Regions from separate parts of the Homo sapiens genome. Here all the other regions are linked to region 1. The links are contacts of gene promoters, found by promoter capture Hi-C in blood cells and fetal thymus (Javierre and others, 2016). All regions are on one chromosome and are shown on one strand. Each heading gives the region's core, a stretch centred on a gene start or on the middle of the fragment in contact. The rest is flanking DNA. Distances are from core to core; before and after follow the strand shown. Region 1 holds the start of FZD5 (frizzled class receptor 5). Region 2 overlaps LOC105373854 (a long non-coding RNA gene). Region 3 holds the start of IDH1 (isocitrate dehydrogenase (NADP(+)) 1). Region 4 has its middle 12 kb from the start of CRYGD. Region 5 has its middle 29 kb from the start of PLEKHM3. Region 6 has its middle 33 kb from the start of CRYGD. Region 7 overlaps PIKFYVE (phosphoinositide kinase, FYVE-type zinc finger containing).

Region 1 (2,700 bases), core at 1-2,500:
GGACGCGGCGGCCGCCCGGCCCACCAGCTGCGCTAGGAGCAGCAGCAACAGCGAGGGCGGCGCGGATGGGTCAGGCCGAGCCATCGCCCCCTCCCTCCCCTCGCCTCCAGCAGCCCGCGAGGGACGCACACAGGCAGAGGAATCCGGGCCGGGGCTTCTCCCTCCGGCGTCTCGTGTGTGGCGCCGGGGCTGGCAACCTGTTGGTTGCTTTTTCCTTTAAAGAAAACCGTCCAAAGATAAACTGCTTCGGGAAGGCGCTGCCTCCGCTGGCAGCGCTCCGCTCCTCGCCGGATAGGGCTGGGGAGAGACGGTTAGGGCTCGGATTCCAGGGAAAGGACTCTTTAAAAAAGAAGGGGGAGAAGAAAGATTGCAACCACTCCCTGTTGGAGAGGCGTCAACAGTTCGGTCCCCGCGAGCTGTCTCCAAATCTCTTAAGTTAACCCCTTTCCTTTCCTCCCCGCTCCGCCTCCTGTAACCAAACTACCGACTCCCCCACCCTCTCTTTCCAAGCTGGGCCCTTCAGGCAGTGCCCGGAGACCAGAACCCTCAGCTTCCCGGAAAAGGGCACAGGAAACGGGAGAAGAACAGGGAGAAAGGGAAGGTTCTCACCTCCACGGATCCCGCCGAGAAGAGCAGACAGTCCCCAGCCAGCCTGGGTCCTCCGTCCCTGGGTCACTCCGCTGAGAAGCGCGACTCAGAGCCGGGCTGGCGCCCGGAAAGTTTAGCGACAGGCTGGGTACCCGTGGCAGCGGCACATGGCAGCAGGTGGGGGCGACTCAGAGTGGGGGGCGCCCCCAGAACAGGGGCGGCGCAGGCCGGTCACTCGCCCTCTCCTCCTCGGGAGCCCCCCGCATGATCCAGACGGAGCCGGGCAGGGGCAGGCCGTGCGTTCTCCCCGGGGCCGGGAGCCGGACGGAGGGCGAGCGCGCCTGGCAGCACCTGGGCGGGAGGAAGGCGGGAGGCGGGGGCCGTGGGACCCCGCCGCCTCACAGCACCGCGAGCAGCCGGCGCTGGCCAGGCCGGGACTGCATGGTGAGCGCCGGCCGCCGCGTCCCGCCCGCCGCTCGCCTCCTCCCCTGCAGGGGGCTCCGCGCTCCAGTGGACTCCTGGGGGCGGTGGCGACGCTCTCGGGACGTGCCCTGCTCGGCTCCTCCCCCGCGCTCTCGCACCCTTTCGCCCACCTCTGGCGAGCACGGAACCGCGCGCGGCGGCGACCACAGCGGACTCACGGCCGCAGGCTGGCTGCCCTCTCCCGCCCCGCCCGGGTCACCTGCTTCTAATGCCCGCCGGGAAGCCCCGCCCCGGCTCCGCCCCCTCAGGCCCGGGCGCGGTTGGTGGGCCGCCTCGCCAAGCTCTCCGCGCGTCCCCGCCCACTGCCCCGCGGGCTCGGCCTTTCCCCCGGCGCCCTCTGGCCCCGCCAGGAGCGGGCAGCCAAGGAGCGCTGACCAATCGCGGGCCTGGAGGAGATGGGGGCGGGGCGAATGCTAATCATGCCGCTCTGGGCACCCGGGCGGGAAGCCCTTGCCAGAAGTCCCTCCGGAGTTCTCTGCCCGCGCCCTGGGTGCAGGACTCGCTCCTGTAACTTCCTGGCTTATGCACCTTTGCTCCCAGGGCCCCTGCCCTTTCTGCCTGCAGCTAAGCGTCCTTACAGAGTTCAGTGCTTCTTTGAAAGAACTGCTCAAGGAATCACTCTTAGGCGTGGCTGTCTCCCTTCCGAGCTGTCTTGGAACTGTGTGAAAGAAGAGAGGATACTTACTGAGCCCTTTACTGTGTGCCCAACAAAGTGTTAATCGGTTACATCCTTTTTTTTTTTTTTTTTTTTTGAGACGAGTTGTTCTGTCTCCCAGGCTGGAGTGCAGTGGCGCGATCTCGGCTCACTGCAACCTCTGTCTCCCGGGTTCAAGCGATTATCCTGCCTCAGCCTCCTGCGTAGCTGGGATTACTGGCGCCCGCCACCACGCCCAGCTAATTTTTGTATTTTTGGTAGAGACGGGCTTTCACCATGTAAGGCTGTTCTCGAACTCCTGACACCGTGATCTGCCCGCCTCGGCCTCCCAAAATGCTGGGATTACAGGTGTGAGCCACCGCGCCCGGCCCGTTTACATCTTAAGACAAGATCTCACTCCTTACAACAATTCTGAGGCAGGTACTTCCTACAGGTGAAGAAACCGAGACTGAGACTTGGCCAAGGCAACCGAGCTAATCATAGTTCCCCCAAGAAAGGGCGACCTCGGCAAGCAAGTTCACCTCCGTATTCCGATCACCTGGCACATAGTAGCCGCCCAAATGGCAACCCTGGGATTCGAACCCAGGTAGTTGGTCAGCGGCACTCACCATCGTAGCCGCCCCTCCCCCCATACTATCGCAGCCTCCCTGGCTTCGACCTTTACTTTTGCATCTCTTAACAAAATCTTGTTGTGACAAGAAAATGGATTTCTTTCTGCCTTTAGAAGACCCAGAAAGATGTGAGTCCTTTATTGGTCGAGGTTTATAATCCCAGGCAGTTCCGAAGTCGCCCGCAGAGAGAAGCGATACCGACCCAGGGTTCTGTGCTGGGCAGGGCGCCGGCCTCCCCGTGCCCTTCCGTCCCCGGCTGCCTGCTGCTAAGCCGCGCACTTGCGCGCCGCGGGGGGTCGGAGGGCGCACCGATGGCGGGGACACGGCGGCGCTCTTCAGTTGCGCAATTATGCTACAAGTTTT
Region 2 (2,700 bases), core at 147-2,646, 300 kb after region 1:
AAGCCCCGTTTCTACAAAAAATACAAAAATTAGCTGGGTATGGTGGCGCATGCCTGTAATCCCAGCTACTCGGGAGGTTGAGGCATGAAAATTGCTTGAACCCGGAAGGCGTAGGTTGCAGTGAGCTGAGATCATGCCACTGCACTCCAGCCTGGGCGACAGAGAGAGACTCTGTCTCCATCAAACAAACAAACAAACAAACAAACAAACAAAACCCAAAACATTTCCAGCCAAAGATCAGGGTTCTGTTTTGCATGTTGGGAAGGGCAGACAGGAATGAGTGGTCAAAGAGGTCTTTTCCTAGGAAGCAACAATTTGGAACTTGAATGATAAGAAGCCTCCAGTTAGATGATGGAAGCAGAATGTTTCAGGCAAGGGAAACAGCAAATGGAAAATGGCAATTTCATGGAAACAAGAAAGTCTGAAACATAATGAGAAGGAAAGGAGATTAGTCTGGGATAATAGATAATGGCTAGACCACACAGGCCTTTACCTGTCAGAGAATTGCTTTCATTTTTTAAAAAACTGAAAATTTTTAATTGCATTGGGATTTTTTTCTTTTTTTTGACTGAGTCTCACTCTATCACCCAGGGTGGAGTGCAGTGGCATGATCTCAGCTCACTGCAACTTCTGCCTCTTGGGTTCAAGTGATTCTCATGCCTCAGCCTCCTGCATAGTTGGGATTACAGGCGTGTGCCACCATGCCTGGCTAATTTTTGTAGTTGTAGTATAGATGAGGTTTCATCATAATGGCCAGGCTGGTCTCAAACTCCTGACCTCAGGTGATCTACCCACCTTGGCCTCCCAAAGTGCTGGGATTACAGGTATGAGCCACTGTACCCAGCCTGCAGTGGGAATTAATTTTAAAGGAAGGAAGTGACATGACTTAGAGTCTCGCTAGTGCTGATATATAGTAGATGTTAAAGAAATCTATCCTTAAGTACGCTGGAAATATCTTGGTTTTTAATCCTGATTACATCCCTAATCATTTAATGGGATGTGGGAAATTATTGATTGTTTTGCCTTATGTCTATAGGCAACATATAAAATTATATTTGTTCATCAGCTGCCTGAATAAAACCAATAATCCATGAGGTAGATCCACAGTAGCATGCTTTCCGTAGAGGATGTGGGGTACAGCAGATATGAGGCACTTGTGTGTTTGTGTGGAGGGGAGTACTAATAAATAAGAAAACGTCACATGTGTATGTATCTGTGCTTGAGGCAGCTCTTTGAGGATGTGTGCAAATCAAGAAAAGGGCTTTTATTTTGATTCCTTTAATTGTGCCTTATTAACTTTTTTTCTTTTTTCTTTATTAAGGTCAGTAGGCATTTGGTAGGAATCTGCATCAAACTGTTGGGCAATGGTAGACAGCAACATTGACGTCTGTAAATTTACACTTGGATTCTTAGTTTCTGGTGAGTAGTTTGTGCTCCTTCAACACTCAGTGAGAGATGATGATAAGCAAACCTTCAGCCTTCAGCTTTCCTGATGCAGTAGGAATTGCCACAAATGCCTGGCTGTGGTCGCCCTCTACTGGACGAATTAAGCCTAACGTTTAAAAGCCACCAGACCACTGTTCCCTTTATAATATCCTCTTCTGCCAAAGCCTACTCACCCTTTAGGTCTGAGAGAGGCCTCTCAGCATCCCCCCTTTCTCTCACCATCTCTGATATGTGTGTTCGTATGACTATTTGATTGACGTCTGTCTCCTCCCTTTCTGCATAGGCTGTAGTCTGCATGAGGGCAGGGACTCTGTTTGCCTCCGAGTGCCTGACACCATTCTTCAATAAATATGTGTTAAATGGATGAATAAAGGAGGAATGAAGGGCCCAAATGTCAAGAGTGAGCCTTTCACACTTCACTCTAGCTGACTGCAGCACGTAGGAGAAAATATAAATTCAAGGCATCTATCCTGCAAATTTTTTTCAAGCAACTTACGCTACTCTTAAAAACCCTGTTTATTAAAGTATTACATATATACAGAAAAGTGCACACATTGTAAGTGTCTAGTTCAATGAATTTTCAAAAACTGGTCACACCCCTGTAACCAGTACACAGATCAAGAAACAGAATGTCACCAGAAACCCAGAAACCCACCCGTGCCCTTGTGATTTTAACAGTATAGAGTTCTTTTGCATGTTTTTATATTTTATAAAAATGAAATCATACAATATGTACTTTTTTGCATCTGGCTTCTTTTCTTCTTTTTTTATTTTTTGTTTTTTTGTTTGTTTGTTTTGTTGTTTTTTTTTTTTTGAGACAGAGTCTCATTCTTGTCGCTGGAGTACAGTGGCATGATCTTGCTCACTGCACCCCCTGGGTTCAAGTGATTCTCATGCCTCAGCCTTCTGAATAGCTGGGACCACAGGCATGCATCACCACACCTGGCTAATTTTTGCATTTTTCTGTAGAGATGGGATTTCGCCATGTTTCCCAGGCTGGTCTTGAACTCATGAGCTCAAGTAATCGGCCTGCCTCAGCCTCCCAAAGTGCTGGGATTACAGGTGGGAGACACCACACCCAGCCTTGAAAACACATTTCAATATTTTGTTAAAGATGAGCAGAAAAGGGCCAGGAGCGGTGGCTCACACCTATAATCCCAGCACTTTGGGAGGCCAAGGTGGGCAGATCACGAGGTCAAGAGTTCAAGACCAGCCTGGTCAACATGGTGAAACCCCGTCTCTACTAAGAATACA
Region 3 (2,700 bases), core at 201-2,700, 490 kb after region 1:
TTTAATATTATTTTCATCAACCTCAAGTTTTTGGCCAGATTGTTTTTTGCCGAGTTCATGAACTACAATAATTTCTGGGCAAAAAGGATCTCTTGCAGATAAGACACTGTATTAAAAGAAACAAGGAAGCTGTTGGAATTCGTTGTTGGAAATATTCCTCACTCATTCCCTTGCAGTGCCTCGGCCTGCCCCCAAGACCAGTTAAACACTGTACTGCCACATCAAAGAAAGTACAGAAGAAGGGGGAAAATTTGCTAATTCTCACCTTGACAGTGAATAGATTTCTTATCACCCCAGTTCCTCCCAGTCTTGCAGACTCAACTGAATGTAGTTTATCGCCTAAAACAAAACAAGGAATAAAAGTGTTAACATACAGAACACTCACAGGAGAATTTAGCTGTTTTTAGTACCTGCCAGACAGCCCAGTTTATCCGGTTTAAAGTACAGTGCTGAGTGTACTCGGTGGGACAAAGGCCAATTTTAGGCCCGCAGGCACTTTCCAAATAAAGGTCATGGGAGCACAATTTATCTCTGCGTGTGCGAGGGCGTGCCCCCGCTTCGCCGCCCGTTAGCAGGTCTTGGGGTTTGCATGTCCTTGCTCTTGGCCTGCACCCGTCCTTATGGCCGTTGTGCAAGAGGGCTGCAATCAAGGCTGGATCGGTACCTCCTTCCAGGTCTCCACGCCCGCCCCTCCCCTCCCCTCCCCTCGCTGGTGCTGGGACCTTTTAAACTCCAGGCACCCGGAACTGGCGGGGGTGTTTCCCCCAGCCCCCTCTCGCCCCGTGTGGCCTAGCGACCCCTCTGAAGGCCGCTGGAGCTCCGCCCCTCCACGCCCCCTGGCGGACGCGAGGGATCGGCTTCAAGGCTATTCCTCGCCGCCTGAGTTGCCTGCAGACGCCCGTCTGCGGCTTACAGCCTTCTTTGCATCCAGCCCCCAGCTGCTGCACGTTTTCTTCCTCCTACACTCCAGGCTTAGTCTTCTACATGCATTCTTGCAACTTCCACCCCTCGATTTTCCAACCCAAGTGCAGACCTGATTTTCCCCTTGTCGTTGCATCCAACTTCCTCACCGCCCAGTTTCTCCCTCCCAGGCCCAAAAGCAGACCTTCTGCATATCCAAGCATCCAGCATCCCCTCCTTCCCTTTTCTTTTCCCATTCTCAATACCTGGATTTGTTCCCTTCTTTGCACGCAGGCCTTGACTCCCTCCACACCCAAGATCTGCGCTTTTTTCCTTTACCCCATTCCTGCCTTCTGCGGAATTAGAGCCACCCCTCCACAGCCAGGGACCGGGGCCGCCCCTTGGAGCCTGAGGTTACCTGCCGGGATGATATGCTGGCGAAGAGTTGGGGCGCCACAGCCGCTCACAAGCTCAGACTCACAACCACAGCCTGGCAATCCCAAACCGGACTCCCAGTGCCTCCGCTTCTGAAGTAGACTCTGCAGAAACCCGGGACCACAGGGTAGGTCCGAGCTTTTCCTCTTCCCGGCTTTGTCCCCTCCCAGGCCCCGCCTCCTCAGCCCACCTCCCCCAGCCCCGCCCCCGACACGCCTCCAATCGCCACACGCCAATTCCCGTGGGATGGGCGGAGTCAGCGAGAGGGGCGTGGCCACAGTCAAAGATGGAGAATCCATGGTGCCACTTTCCCGGTGATCCCGGTGGGGGAAGGGGTTGCCGCCCGGCAGAGATTCAGTCCCGAATCCCGACAGCGAAGAGACTTGTATGCCACCTGCAGGCCGGGGAGCGGGGCGCGCTGGGGCTGCACCACCCCGAACTTTGTAACAATCTAGAGCACCACAGAGTGTTTCCAGGTCGGCACAAAAGCGAACGGGACAGGGCGCCCTGGGCGGCGGCAGCTTGGCCGGCCCGCTGCCTAGCGCGCCCCCGAGGGGCGGTAATGGAACGTACCTTTGGCTGAAGAAAGAGTGCTCCCGGCCAGCGCGGGGTCGCCTAGGGGGTTCCGCGCTGCCTAATGCAAAGGATGGAAAAGTTACAGAAGCAGGTCCTGACACCACCTATGTCTAGGTCTTTAGAAACTCCATTGATTGTTTGCATTAGAAGATAATGAATGGGATTCTTATTATTTTCTTTTTTAAGACAGGGCCTTGCTCTGTTGCCCTGGCTGGAGTGCAGTGGAGCGATCACCGCTCACTGCAGCCTTGACTTCCTGGGCTCAAGAGATCCTCCCACCTCAGCCTTCCGAGTAGCTGGGATTACAGGTGCACACAATCACACTCAACTAATTTTTCTTTCTTTCTTTTCTTTTCTTTTTCCTTTGGTAGAGATGGGTTTCAGCAGCCCAGGCTGGTCTCGAACTCCTGGACTCAAGTGATTGGCCCTCCTCGGCCTCCCAAAGTCCTGGGATTACAAGCGTGAGCCACCATGCTCAGTTGGCGGGGGATTATCTGTGATCCAATGAAGTTGGACTAGAGATGTGAAGCCTTAGAAAACGGTGGATTGAAAAAAGAATTTTAGTCTCCTCCAGAGATTATATTTTGTGTGTTCATTGCTCTCAAAAACATGAAAATAAAGAGTATTTTATATTGTGATTTGTAGGACAATAGCATGCTTGTATATTGCTGCCCAGAATTTAATGCTCCAATATTTATTTATTTATTTATTTATTTATGAGACAGAGTCTTGCCCTGACAGGCTGGTGCAGTCTCGGCTCACTGCAACTTCCGCCTCCTGGGTTCAAGT
Region 4 (2,700 bases), core at 200-2,699, 340 kb after region 1:
CTGTGAAATTTCAGGCTGCTGGGGCTTCATTTAGGTAACAGTGGGCCCTGCAGGAGCTATTGGAATCTCATTGTTGGTTACTGGTTTGCCCAATCAGAAGGCAGGACTTGAGAGACCCTTGATGTTCATAATAATAGTTAATACTCGGGGTTGGGGATTGGCATGTGCCAGGCACCCTCCTTTTACCCTCATTGGAACCCTATAAAGGAACTACTCTCATCAGCCCTTTTTACAGATGACGTAAAAGAAATAGCCACCTAGCCTATGGCCACCTGAGAGCAAGGAATTAATCTGTTGCTGTTTCATCACCTGTGGCATAGACGCTCTGAGCTAATGCCACGCACAACTTATTCCCAGTAGAGGTGAATTTGACTTTAGCAAAATAAAATAAAATGACCAGTTAAAAGCACTGCATCACATACTTTTTCAGTGGGAGGAAACCTTACGCATGTTAATAAAGGAAAAGAGAATATAGTTAGAGCCAGAAAAAAGAAGCCTGCCATCGCATCCCATCGCCTGTCGTGTGAATCATCCACGTGGATCACTGATGCGACTCGAGGGCACGGAAGGGCCCGGGTGGGACTGCACTCACGTGGGGGATGAGGCGGCAGGAGCGGACCGAGTCGCTGAGGCCCATCCACTGCTGGTGGTCGGCATAGTCGCCGCGGCGCAGGAACTACTGGAGGCCCGAGTAGTTGGGCTGCTCATAGAGCACCCAGCAGCCGCTGTCCACGCGCACCGAGTTGCAGCGGCTCAAGTAGGGCTGCAGGTTGGGGTGGTCGCTGCTGCATTCGTAGTGGCGGCCCTGGAAGCCCCGGTCCTCGTAGAGGGTGATCTGCAAGGCAAGGCGAGGCAAGGCGAGGTCTCACAGGCCTGCCCCTGCCCCAGTCTCCGGCCCCCGCCATGCAGGGAGCTACCGGGGGGCACGGGCTGGGCTCACCTTCCCCATGGCTGGCTGGGCGCACGGCGGGGCTGAGCGGGTGGGGCGGCAGCGCGGCGGGGCTATATAGCAGGAGGGCTGCTGTGTTGGCAAGAACCGCACAAAAGGGGCCCCCGGAGGGGAGCAAGGGCATTTTTTTTTCTCTCTCTCTCTGTTCCATATAATGACTGTAGGGGAGGGGGTGGGAGGTTTATTGTATGTTTTCTTTTAGACTCTCTAAAGCTTTCGAATTGATGATCTGGTTAAAACTGTCACTTAGTGCCATTTGGGCCTTTACATAAAGCCTATTTGGGAAATTGGAATTGAGCAAGTGCTTAAGAGTTAGTAATTGTAATTAAATGTTTTATTTACCTTTTAAAAGTTCAGTTTGAGCAACAAAGCAGAATAGCGACCAAGTCTAAGGTCGAAATAGACTACAGCATGAGGCTGTATTGTTTAGATTGGTGTGAAATGTGAAACGTGAGGATGAACTTGCCTTCTCCTCGGGCTGTTTACAGTAGGATGTGATTCTCCTTTAAGAGAACCTCTCTATGATCCTACCTGCTGATAAGCAGGGTATCAGATAACTAATGCAGGAGGTTGGACGCCAGGGGTTGGGCCTGGGGAAGCCCTATTTAGGCACCTGGCCTCAGCTCTGATCCCTGGAGCCTGGGTGGAAGCAGGGAAGTCTTCAGCTTCAGCACCGTGCCTGCCTCAGCACAGGCAATGAAACTCTCAACTGTGGGATTCATGAAGTGACACTTTGGCGGTTATTACACTGGTAACTTTCTATTTAACAACTTTGCTAACTAAAGGCTAAGCTTAGTTGGTTCTAGCTGCTGACAAATGCAAGTTAACATGCAAATATAACACATTGAAGATCCTGCAATCTTGCAAAGATTCTGCCTTCTTCACCCTGGGGCAAAACCCTCGTGGCTCTCTAGTTAAGGCTCTGACTCCAGGGACTGGGGTCTTCCTTCCTTTTGCCGGGACCCTGTCCCTCCTGGTGTTCCACTCTCTTTAGAGCAAGGTTTCTCAACCGCAGCACTCTTTTGACATTTGGGGCCCAAAAAATTATCTGCTGGGTGGGGAGGCTGTCCTGTGCATTGCAGGACATTGAGCAGCATCCTGGCCTCTACCATCTGGGTACCGGTAGCATTACTGTCCGGTCGTGACAAGCAGAACTGTCTGCAGACATTGCCAAAGGTTCCCTGGAAAGCAAATCCACTCCCCATCCGCACTAAGAACCACTGATTTAGAATAACTTTGGTGCACCCAGTCTCACTCCTTAGTTTGGATTCTTGCTACCTAAGTCTAATACTAAAAAATAGCTTTCTCTGGACAAATTTTATGTGATCCACGTAAGTTTAATAAGCCTCATTTACATATTTCTCTTTTAAAAATTATAACTTTTGTGGAAAATTTAGAAACTATAAAGCAGTAGAAAGGAGAAAAGATTTTAAGCCGTAGTTTTGTATAAAAAGTAGCACTGTTGATGTATATTTAAAAACTCCTAATTCTCACACCTGTGATCTAATATTTCCATCTCTAGGAATTTGTCCAATGGAAAAAATTAAAGATGCATACAAAGATTATGAACAGTGATATTTTATCAGAATGGTGTTTATAATATAGAAAATTAGATACAAATAAAATGTCCAGAATAGGGCATTGTTTAAATAAATCATGGAACACTTGTTTGATGAGATGCTATGCAGCTACCAAAAATCATGTTGTCAAAGAATTTATTTAAGGGTATGGAAAATGCTTACCATATGTCA
Region 5 (2,700 bases), core at 75-2,574, 280 kb after region 1:
TAGGCGACCATGAACCCACTTTCTGTCTCTCTGGATTTACGTATTCTGAGCATTTTATGTCATTGGAATCATAAAACATATGCTCTCGTGTGTGGCATTTTTCACTTAGCATAACGTCTTCAAGGCTCATCCATGTTGTAGCACGTGTCAGTTTTTCATTCCTTTTTATGGCTGAATAACAGTCTTTTGTATAGATACAGCACATTTTGTTTATCCATTCATCAGTTGATGAGAATTTGGGTTATTTATACTTTTTGGCAGTTATTTAATAATTCTGCTTTTTATTGCCAGATAATATTTCATTATATGGATATACTCATTATTTTTATATGCAGTTATTTAATTGTGAATGAGACAAAGATTTTAATAGATTTGACCATTTTCTTTTTGATTTGTTTTTACTTACTGAGTTGTACAAGAAGTTGTATATTAATGATTTTCTTTGCTTGCCAAATGTTGCAATATTTTTTCCACTTTGTATATATTCACATTTTTCTCTTCCTTTAAGACTTTAGAATTGTGTGTCTTGCCTAGAAAGTCTTTTTATATTACATCTGTGTAGTGTGGGTATAAAAAATAAAACAAAAAAAATGAAGAAAAAATCTTATTATTTTATTTTACGTTTTCTTTTCTTTTTTTCTTTTTTGAGACAGGGTCTCACTCTGTTGCCCAGGCTGGAGTGCAGTGGCACAATTATAGCTCATTACAGCCTCAACTTCCTGTGTTTAAGCCATCCTCCCACCTCAGCCTCCCAAGTAGCTTGGACTATAGGTGTGCACCACCATGCCTGGCTGGTCTGCAACTCCTGAGCTCTAGCAGTCCTCCCACCTTGACCTCCCAAAGTGCTGGGATTACAGGTGTGGGCCACAGCACCCAGCCTAGAAATTATTTTTAAACTCCTGGATTATATATAAATAAACTCACCAATAAATGAATAAATTTATTTATTTATATATTTATTATATATAAATAAATTCACTCAAAACTCCTAATTATATATAAATTCACCAGTTTTTTAAAAACTCCTAGATTATATACAACTCCTAGATTAACATATATTTCATACTCCAGATTATATATAAATTCACCAACTATATAATCTAATATATATAATAGTAGTTCAAAACCAGTATATGTAACAAGTATAATATATACATATAAGTATATGTGTGTGTATATATATACTTATGCATGTGTATGTGTGTGTGTGTATATATACATATATATACACATATATACACTTACTTGTTTATATTACATTTCTCTCATCCAAGTATTAAGCAGGCCCCCAGACCTAACCCTGCTTAGCTTCTGAGATCAGATAAGATTGGGGGCATTCAGAGTGGTATGGCCATAGAGTATGTATTATATTGCTATCTTTGAATCCTCTGGAAATTTGGGAATATAAAGAGCATGGTAAAGAATCCATTTTATTTTATTTTCCATTCCTAGCCAGTTTTCTCATCACTGTCTATTGATTAATACATCTTCCCTTCTCCCATCCCTCCCCTATAAATTCGACTCATCTACCTTTTTCACACATTAAATCTGTATACGTATTTGGGTTTATTTCTGTTGATTCTCTTCTATTCCATTCTATTCTATTTAGCTATTCTATTTCTTCTCTAGAATAAGATATTTTAATTATTATAACTCCATGATACATTTTAATGTATAGTTGTATTAATTACCCTCTCACTACTCTTGTTTTTCAGAGTTTTTCTAATTGCCCATTTATATGTCTTGAAGAACTTTAGTGTTATTTTTGTCAGGTTGAAAAAAATCACCTTGGTGTTTTATTTGGCATATACATTGAATTTACAGATCATTTAAGGAAATCAATGTCTTTATAATGTGAATAGTCTCTCTTAATGTTGTAGGCAAAGAGGGAAAATCTGAAGAGGAAAAGGAAGAGGAGGAGGAGAAGGAGGTAGAGGAGGGGGAAGAGGGGAATAAGGAAGAAAAAGAGACAATTTCCTTCATAATTCACATTCTAAAATATGACGTAAATTGCATTTCCCTCTGAATAGCACAAAACACTTTTAAAACACCATCTCAGTCTCTAAAACATCTCAGCAGTATGCAATTACTATTGCTAATTGATAGACTAAAAGTTCAAGGCACAAACTTGGCCATGTTCTTTAACTTATATAATCATTCTAAAGTGATTTCTTTTCTTTTGGGTACTTATGAAGAACTGAGTGTAAATCTTTCCTGCCTACAGGTTTTTGGCAGCCCCTGCTGGAGTAAGATTATGTAATGGATAGGGGTAACAGCTCGCATATCTATATGCAAGCAATCTAATTGACAGCGACTTTATTCTGATGTAAGCTACTTTGCGAAAATTTGGACTCTTACCCCAACTTCAACTTTTATCCCACTGTCAAAATTATTTCCAGATTATCCAAAGTGATAGGTAATAAACAGAAAAATAGATTAACACTCATTCTTAGCTTCTTAGACCTCTTAATTTTGAACAGTTTCCTTTGGAGAATTGTAAAATTAAAGGTTATTTTCCCACAATTTTTCTCCTTCTAAATATTTGGATAACACACTAGGGTGACTAAATGGATACTTCGAGCCTACCACGAAGACGGCCAATCTGCAAAGCAAAGCTAAGAGAACAGGGAGTCCAAATGCACTTGGAGTACCTGGAAATTATACCTGGCAGCCAGCAACCTTTTGTGCTTCTTTGTTGTA
Region 6 (2,700 bases), core at 176-2,675, 320 kb after region 1:
TTACAGAAGTTCAAAGTCTGGTTTTCAAAATGAGATAATAGATTGAAGGACCACATTAGGTATATAGTAGTGGGTTGCTTAATTTTACGCGTCAACTTGACTGGGCTAAAGGATGCTGAAATATCTGGTAAAACATTTCTGGGTATGTCTGTGAAAGTGTTTTGGGAAGAGATTAACATTTGAATCAGTAGACTCGGTAAAGAAAATTAAGTTCATCAATACAATAATTTTATCATTTTATGGATAATTTTATCCTTTTAGGGCCCAAATAGGTCAAAAAAGTAGAGGAGGGTGAATTCACTCTGTTTGAGCTGGGACATCTGTCTTTCTCTGCCATCAGACATCAGTGCTCTTGGTTTTCAGGCCTTTGGGTCTGAACTGGAGCATACACCATTAGCTCTCCTGTTTCTCAGGCCTTCAGACTTGGACTTCAGAGTTCCAGTGGAATTGCATCACCAGTTTTCTGGTTCTCCAGTTTACAAACAGCAAATTGTGGGACTTCTCAGCCTTCATAATCACATGAGCCAATCCTCACTACAAATCTCCTCTTATATACACATATGTTGTTGGTTCTAGTTCTCTGGAGAACCCTGAAGAGACCTGGCCATTCAAAGGCATGGGATAATTTGTAGATAACTCTAAGGCTTGCCTTTAAGAGATCAGTAAGTTCATTGGCCCTATTTTCTACACAGCTCATGATAGAAAAATCTTAAAACTTTACACAATAATTCCATTCCAGGGTCTACTTACCTTTACCAACAGGAAGTGCTTATCTAACCTGAAATTTTTCAGTACACTTTTTTTTAAACAGTCTAAATTTATTTATTTATTTGTAGATTACTCTAAGGCTTGCCTTTAAGAGATCAGTAAGTTTATTGGCCCTATTTTCTACATAGCTCATGATAGAAAAATCTTAAAACTTTACATAATAATTCCATTCCAGGGTCTACTCACCTTTACCAACAGGAAGTGCTTATCTAACCTGAAATTTTTCAGTCATATTTTTTAAAACAGTCTAAATTTATTTATTTATTTATTTATTTATTTATTTGAGATGGAGTTTTGCTCTTGTCACCCAGGCTGGAGTGCAATGGCACAGTCTTGGCTCACTGCAACCTCCGCCTCCCAGATTCAAGCAACTCTCCTGCCTCAGCCTTCCCAGTAGCTGGGACTACAGGCACCCACCACCATGCCCAGCTGACTTTTGTATTTTTGGTAGAGACAGGGTTTCACTATGTTGGCCAGGCTGGTCTCGAACTCCTGACCTCAGGTGATCCACCCGCCTCGGCCTCCCAAAGTGCTGGGATTACAGGCATGAGCCACCATGCCAGGCTTAAAACAGTCTAAATTTCAAGGAAGAAGAAACATGTTCTACTTCATAAAGCTGCATGTGATAGGGTGCTAACTGGGAAATCGGAGATGCTCTCCATAGACTCCACTGTCAGTGTCTGTGTTCCTAGTGAATGAGGGAGCCAGTGACTAGTTTGCCTGTTTGTTAGCAGGAGTGTCTGCTACATGCTGTGGCATGAAGCAAGTTATCAATTTTCTTTGGACTTTGTAGTGAGCATACTCAGGTGATGAGCACTTGTTTTTTTTTTTCTTTCTTCTTCTTCTTCTTATTATACTTTAAGTTCTAGGGTACACGTGAACAACATGCAGGTTTGTTACATATGTATACATGTGCAATGTTGGTGGAGCACTTGTTTTGTTTTGATTTTTCTTCTTGGAATCCATTCTACCTTCAAGTACTCCTCTTTTCCTTAGAAAACAGACCTCATCTCAATAAAAATATAAATAAAAATTAATTAATTAATTTCAATCAATTAAATTTGTTAATTAAAGAAATTTTTCCAGCTTATATTTTCAAAAGTAATGAAGTTTTGTGAACATTTTCAATAGCCCAACCTAAATTTATAATTGAAGATAAAGTAGACTGCTTCAAGAAGTCTAAATGAACAGAAATCTCTCTTGCTAAAGATAAGTGTTCAATGCTTTGCATTTAATCCCCAAAATACTTTAGATCCAACTTTGCTTAGAGAACACCCAGTAAAAGATAAGCAACAGCTGTTATGTTTGACCTACATGTGACCTCTTCCTCATTCTCATTCCATGTGGCTTAAGTCTCATTGACTCTATCTCCCAACTCCAGGGTTTGCTTCAGCCATTTAGAGTATTCTAAGGCTGAAACAGTTGAGGACCACTGAATTAGTCAGGGTTCTTCAGAGAAACAGAGCCAATGGGATGGATGGATAGAGAGATAGATAGACAGATAGATGAAAGAGGATTTATTATGGGAATTGACTCCTGTGATTATGGAGGCTTAGGAGTCCCCTGACAGGCTACCTGCAAGGTAGAGAACCAGGGAAGCTGGTAGCATGGCTCAGTCCAAGTCCAAAGGTCTGAGAACCAAGAGAGCCATTGGTGTAACTCTGGGTCTGAGACCAAAGTCCAGAGAAACTGAGGGACTGCTGGTGCAAATCCTGGAGTCCAAAGGCCAGAGAACCTGGAGTTCTGATGTCCAAGGGCAGGAGAAGATGGTGTCGCAGTTGCAGAAGAGAGAGCAAATTCAGCTTTCCTCTGCCTTCTGGTTCTGTTTGGACCCTTAACTAATCAGATGGTGCCCACCCACATTGGGTGAGGATGGGTCTTCCTTACTCTACTGATTTAAAAGCCAATTTCTTCTGGAAATACCCTCACAGA
Region 7 (2,700 bases), core at 131-2,630, 510 kb after region 1:
TAGGTCACCCACACCTTATAAAAAGCAGCTTAATGAGGAACTCCAGCGGCGCTCTTCAGCATTAGGTAAAACAGTGTTCTTATTTCATTCCCTTCTATATGCTAGATTTTTCCACAGTCATTGTGTTTCCTAGGTTGTTTATAGCAGGACTTAACTTTCCTGCTATTTGGAATAGTAAGATACTATTTGAAATAGTCAGGTACTGTTTAGAGTAAATAAAACTCTTACCTCGGTAGTGAAAGAATTTATTGACACCTGAAAAAATTCTTAAACGTCTCATTAAACTTTAATTTAGGCAAGGCACAGATTTCTTGACTATTTTTTGATTAATTACTTGCTTGGGTTTCAGCAGACAACAGTTTGCAACATCCCCAGGAGAACACAGGTTAGTTTCCACTTTGTGAATGAATTCTGCATCTGTTCTTGGGGTGCTAGTGAAATGTGATATGCATGCCTCTGGCTGCAGAACTCTGTCAACTCCATTATTGGGCTGCCACTTGCTCTTGGCCTTCTGTCCTTGTTGGGGTGCAAACTGTCAGTGTGGCTGAATAAGCTGAGCTCCTCTCATCTGTCTGTTTTCCATTCTGGTCTACTACACAGTCATCTCCTTCATTTTCATGCTCTTCTGATGAGTATGGGCTGGGGATTGGTGTCAGAATTGAGAGATTAGAAAAAGAGAGGTGGTTTATGTTTTATTTCTGTCAGATTTTTCAACTTGGAGTGGTTTGCCTAAGTCAAGGTGACAAAGGAAGTGGGAGGTGGCATGATAGAGGGGAAGGGATGCAGCATTGGGAATTAGATGCCCCAGAACACCAGATCTCGTCTGGTGTGGCTGATCTTCCCCCAGATAGTGGTGGTTGGCAGAAGGATATTTTATTGTGAGTTCAGACTTGGTCAGCCAGAACAAAGAGAAACTGAGCAAAAGTAGAGTTTCTACCCGAGGACTGGCACAGAGCTGGCTGCATCACCTGCACAGGTTTTCTAGGGCAGTGAGCCTCAGCCAGGGTTACATCAGCCATTTGGAGGGAAGAATCAGAAGATGGGGAGTGGGAGAGGGAGAAAGAAAGGAGCTCTCCTTTTATTCCAGATAATCTCTATTTTAACTTTTAACCTCAATAAACTCTCCTTAGCTCTTGAATCTGACTCACAACAACACTCTTTTTGTTGAGGGAGCTGTTTTGACTAAATCCCATGCTGAATTGAGTGTAGGATTTTTTTATTTCTAAAATCAAGTTAGACTAAAATGTAATATTTTAGGAGTTACAAATTGGCAGCCTGCCAAACCTTGCCATTGGTATTATGATCAACTTGAACTTTAATATCTCCAGGTGGAGCCTTTACTGTCTAGTTTCCTTACTGTCCTTCTCAAGTCTGCTTGATTATTTGATTCTATCTTGAAGGCATTTGAGCTTCAGAAGCCTGGTGTTATTTGGCCAGTCAAGTTCTTTTCCCTATTAAAAGGGCTGTAATTCTATAATTTACTAGCTTTCCGACCTTAGGAAAGTTATTTAATTTTCTAATGTTCATTTTGCAAGAGAAGCAGCTAAGGCTATTTGCCTAAGGGCATAGAGCTAGACCAGATTTTCTCTCTGGGTTTCTTTCATCTTCAGCCAACATCTGTGATTCTCTTGGTTCCAAGAAGGGTCTCACTCATCCTTTTTCAGCGGATGATGCTATTACTACTTTCTTATATTCCTAATTGGCTAAATGCCAGGGACTTCACAAGTTTTTGCCTGCTGCACGGAAGCACAGCCATTATGTTTCCAGTAGCTTCATCTGTCTTCTTTTTCAATTTGTAGATCATGGGGAGTTGTTTTTTGTTTTGAGACTCAAGTTTAGTTATTCTAATACAGTAGCAACACATCTGAGGTATGTGCTAAAATTAAGATATAACTTTATAGAAAGATAAAAGTTGCCAAAGTTTTCTAAAATAGGTACAATTTTGGTAGTTACTTCAGTGATTACATTATCTTGGGAAATTCTTTGTAAACTTTAGATCCCAACCTCTCATTTCTTTGTAATTCTTTTTTTTCCCTCCCAGCCAAAACAGCACCTATCTAGCAAATGGTGAGTTTGAGGAAGATTCAGAGTGGGGTATTTTCCAGTTTACTTTGCCATAGGTTATCAGTTTGATGGGTTTAAGCTAATAGGATGTTCATCCTTTTTGTCAAAACGTCTTTGCTTCATGCTTAGGTTTTGTAACTGCCAGAAATAGGCAGAAACTTCAGTTGTAATTTTGGTCTAAATTAAGGAAATAATAAGTGACAACTTTGGTGGGCATACCCTATTTTGGCCATGAGGCTGGAATTTGGGCTTATTAGTGATAGATTTGGCTTCAGTATTGCTATGTCAGGTATAAATGATCCTTTCCTATTTGGAGCTGTGGGGTTGGGGAAGTGACAGGGAAGGATAGGATTGGAGTTTTAGCAATTTTCTGGCAGTTTTAATTTGCTTGGACATAGGTCAGGTTTTACCATGGCAAAATTTGCCATCCTGGATGTTGTGAAGTCTGTCAGAATCTTTGAAGGCTGGGCTATTAAACTTCTTTCTGATCATCTTCTGTATGAGACTTTGGATATATGGTCTACAGATATAGACAGAACTGAACTGTTTGATCCTATTGCTTACCTGTTTGACTTTAGAGACCAAGCTAAGTTAACCCTCCTTGATTGCTTTTTCTTCTGCTAAATTTCTAGCATG

Evidence for each region. The method cuts DNA at HindIII sites, captures the fragments that hold promoters and counts their contacts. A CHiCAGO score of 5 or more calls a contact.
Region 2: a fragment that was not itself captured here is called in contact with the fragment with the promoter of FZD5 in region 1 in 13 of 17 cell types (megakaryocytes, erythroblasts, M1 macrophages and 10 more); the score reaches 32.8 in megakaryocytes.
Region 3: the fragment with the promoter of IDH1 here is called in contact with the fragment with the promoter of FZD5 in region 1 in 4 of 17 cell types (neutrophils, total CD8 T cells, megakaryocytes and 1 more); the score reaches 6.6 in neutrophils.
Region 4: a contact is called between a fragment that was not itself captured here and the fragment with the promoter of FZD5 in region 1, in 1 of 17 cell types (megakaryocytes). The highest score is 5.1, in megakaryocytes.
Region 5: a contact is called between a fragment that was not itself captured here and the fragment with the promoter of FZD5 in region 1, in 9 of 17 cell types (megakaryocytes, M0 macrophages, M2 macrophages and 6 more). The highest score is 15.7, in megakaryocytes.
Region 6: a contact is called between a fragment that was not itself captured here and the fragment with the promoter of FZD5 in region 1, in 6 of 17 cell types (megakaryocytes, erythroblasts, M0 macrophages and 3 more). The highest score is 10.6, in megakaryocytes.
Region 7: a contact is called between a fragment that was not itself captured here and the fragment with the promoter of FZD5 in region 1, in 1 of 17 cell types (erythroblasts). The highest score is 5.0, in erythroblasts.

The regions. Positions count from the first base shown.
Region 1 is chr2:207,768,656-207,771,355 of GRCh38, forward strand. FZD5 (frizzled class receptor 5) reads right to left here and starts at 1,251. Exons shown (of 2, transcript NM_003468.4): 1 at 610-1,251; 2 at 1-339. The coding sequence starts at 84. RefSeq lists silencers at 2-61, 472-531, 872-1,551 and enhancers at 2,102-2,151, 2,316-2,700. The HindIII fragment of the contact is 9,976 bases long and covers 1-2,700 here.
Region 2 is chr2:208,070,942-208,073,641 of GRCh38, forward strand. LOC105373854 (a long non-coding RNA gene) reads left to right here. Exons shown (of 4, transcript XR_923815.3): 3 at 1,322-1,419. Among named protein-coding and RNA genes, the nearest start is that of PLEKHM3, 47 kb to the left of the region's middle. The HindIII fragment of the contact is 3,248 bases long and covers 1-2,700 here.
Region 3 is chr2:208,253,621-208,256,320 of GRCh38, forward strand. It overlaps IDH1 (isocitrate dehydrogenase (NADP(+)) 1), which reads right to left and starts at 1,451. Exons shown (of 10, transcript NM_005896.4): 1 at 1,319-1,451; 2 at 266-339. IDH1-AS1 (IDH1 antisense RNA 1) reads left to right here and starts at 1,613. Exons shown (of 2, transcript NR_046452.1): 1 at 1,613-1,811; 2 at 2,283-2,574. RefSeq lists a silencer at 596-705 and an enhancer at 1,159-1,685. The HindIII fragment of the contact is 4,060 bases long and covers 1-2,700 here.
Region 4 is chr2:208,111,674-208,114,373 of GRCh38, forward strand. It overlaps the pseudogene CRYGEP. Among named protein-coding and RNA genes, the nearest start is that of CRYGD, 12 kb to the right of the region's middle. RefSeq lists an enhancer at 1-557. The HindIII fragment of the contact is 578 bases long and covers 1,161-1,738 here.
Region 5 is chr2:208,052,900-208,055,599 of GRCh38, forward strand. It overlaps the pseudogene RNA5SP116. Among named protein-coding and RNA genes, the nearest start is that of PLEKHM3, 29 kb to the left of the region's middle. The HindIII fragment of the contact is 3,051 bases long and covers 1-2,700 here.
Region 6 is chr2:208,090,201-208,092,900 of GRCh38, forward strand. No RefSeq gene overlaps it. Among named protein-coding and RNA genes, the nearest start is that of CRYGD, 33 kb to the right of the region's middle. The HindIII fragment of the contact is 3,045 bases long and covers 1-2,700 here.
Region 7 is chr2:208,273,669-208,276,368 of GRCh38, forward strand. It overlaps PIKFYVE (phosphoinositide kinase, FYVE-type zinc finger containing), which reads left to right. Exons shown (of 42, transcript NM_015040.4): 3 at 1-65. Among named protein-coding and RNA genes, the nearest start is that of PIKFYVE, 8.8 kb to the left of the region's middle. The HindIII fragment of the contact is 3,746 bases long and covers 1-2,700 here.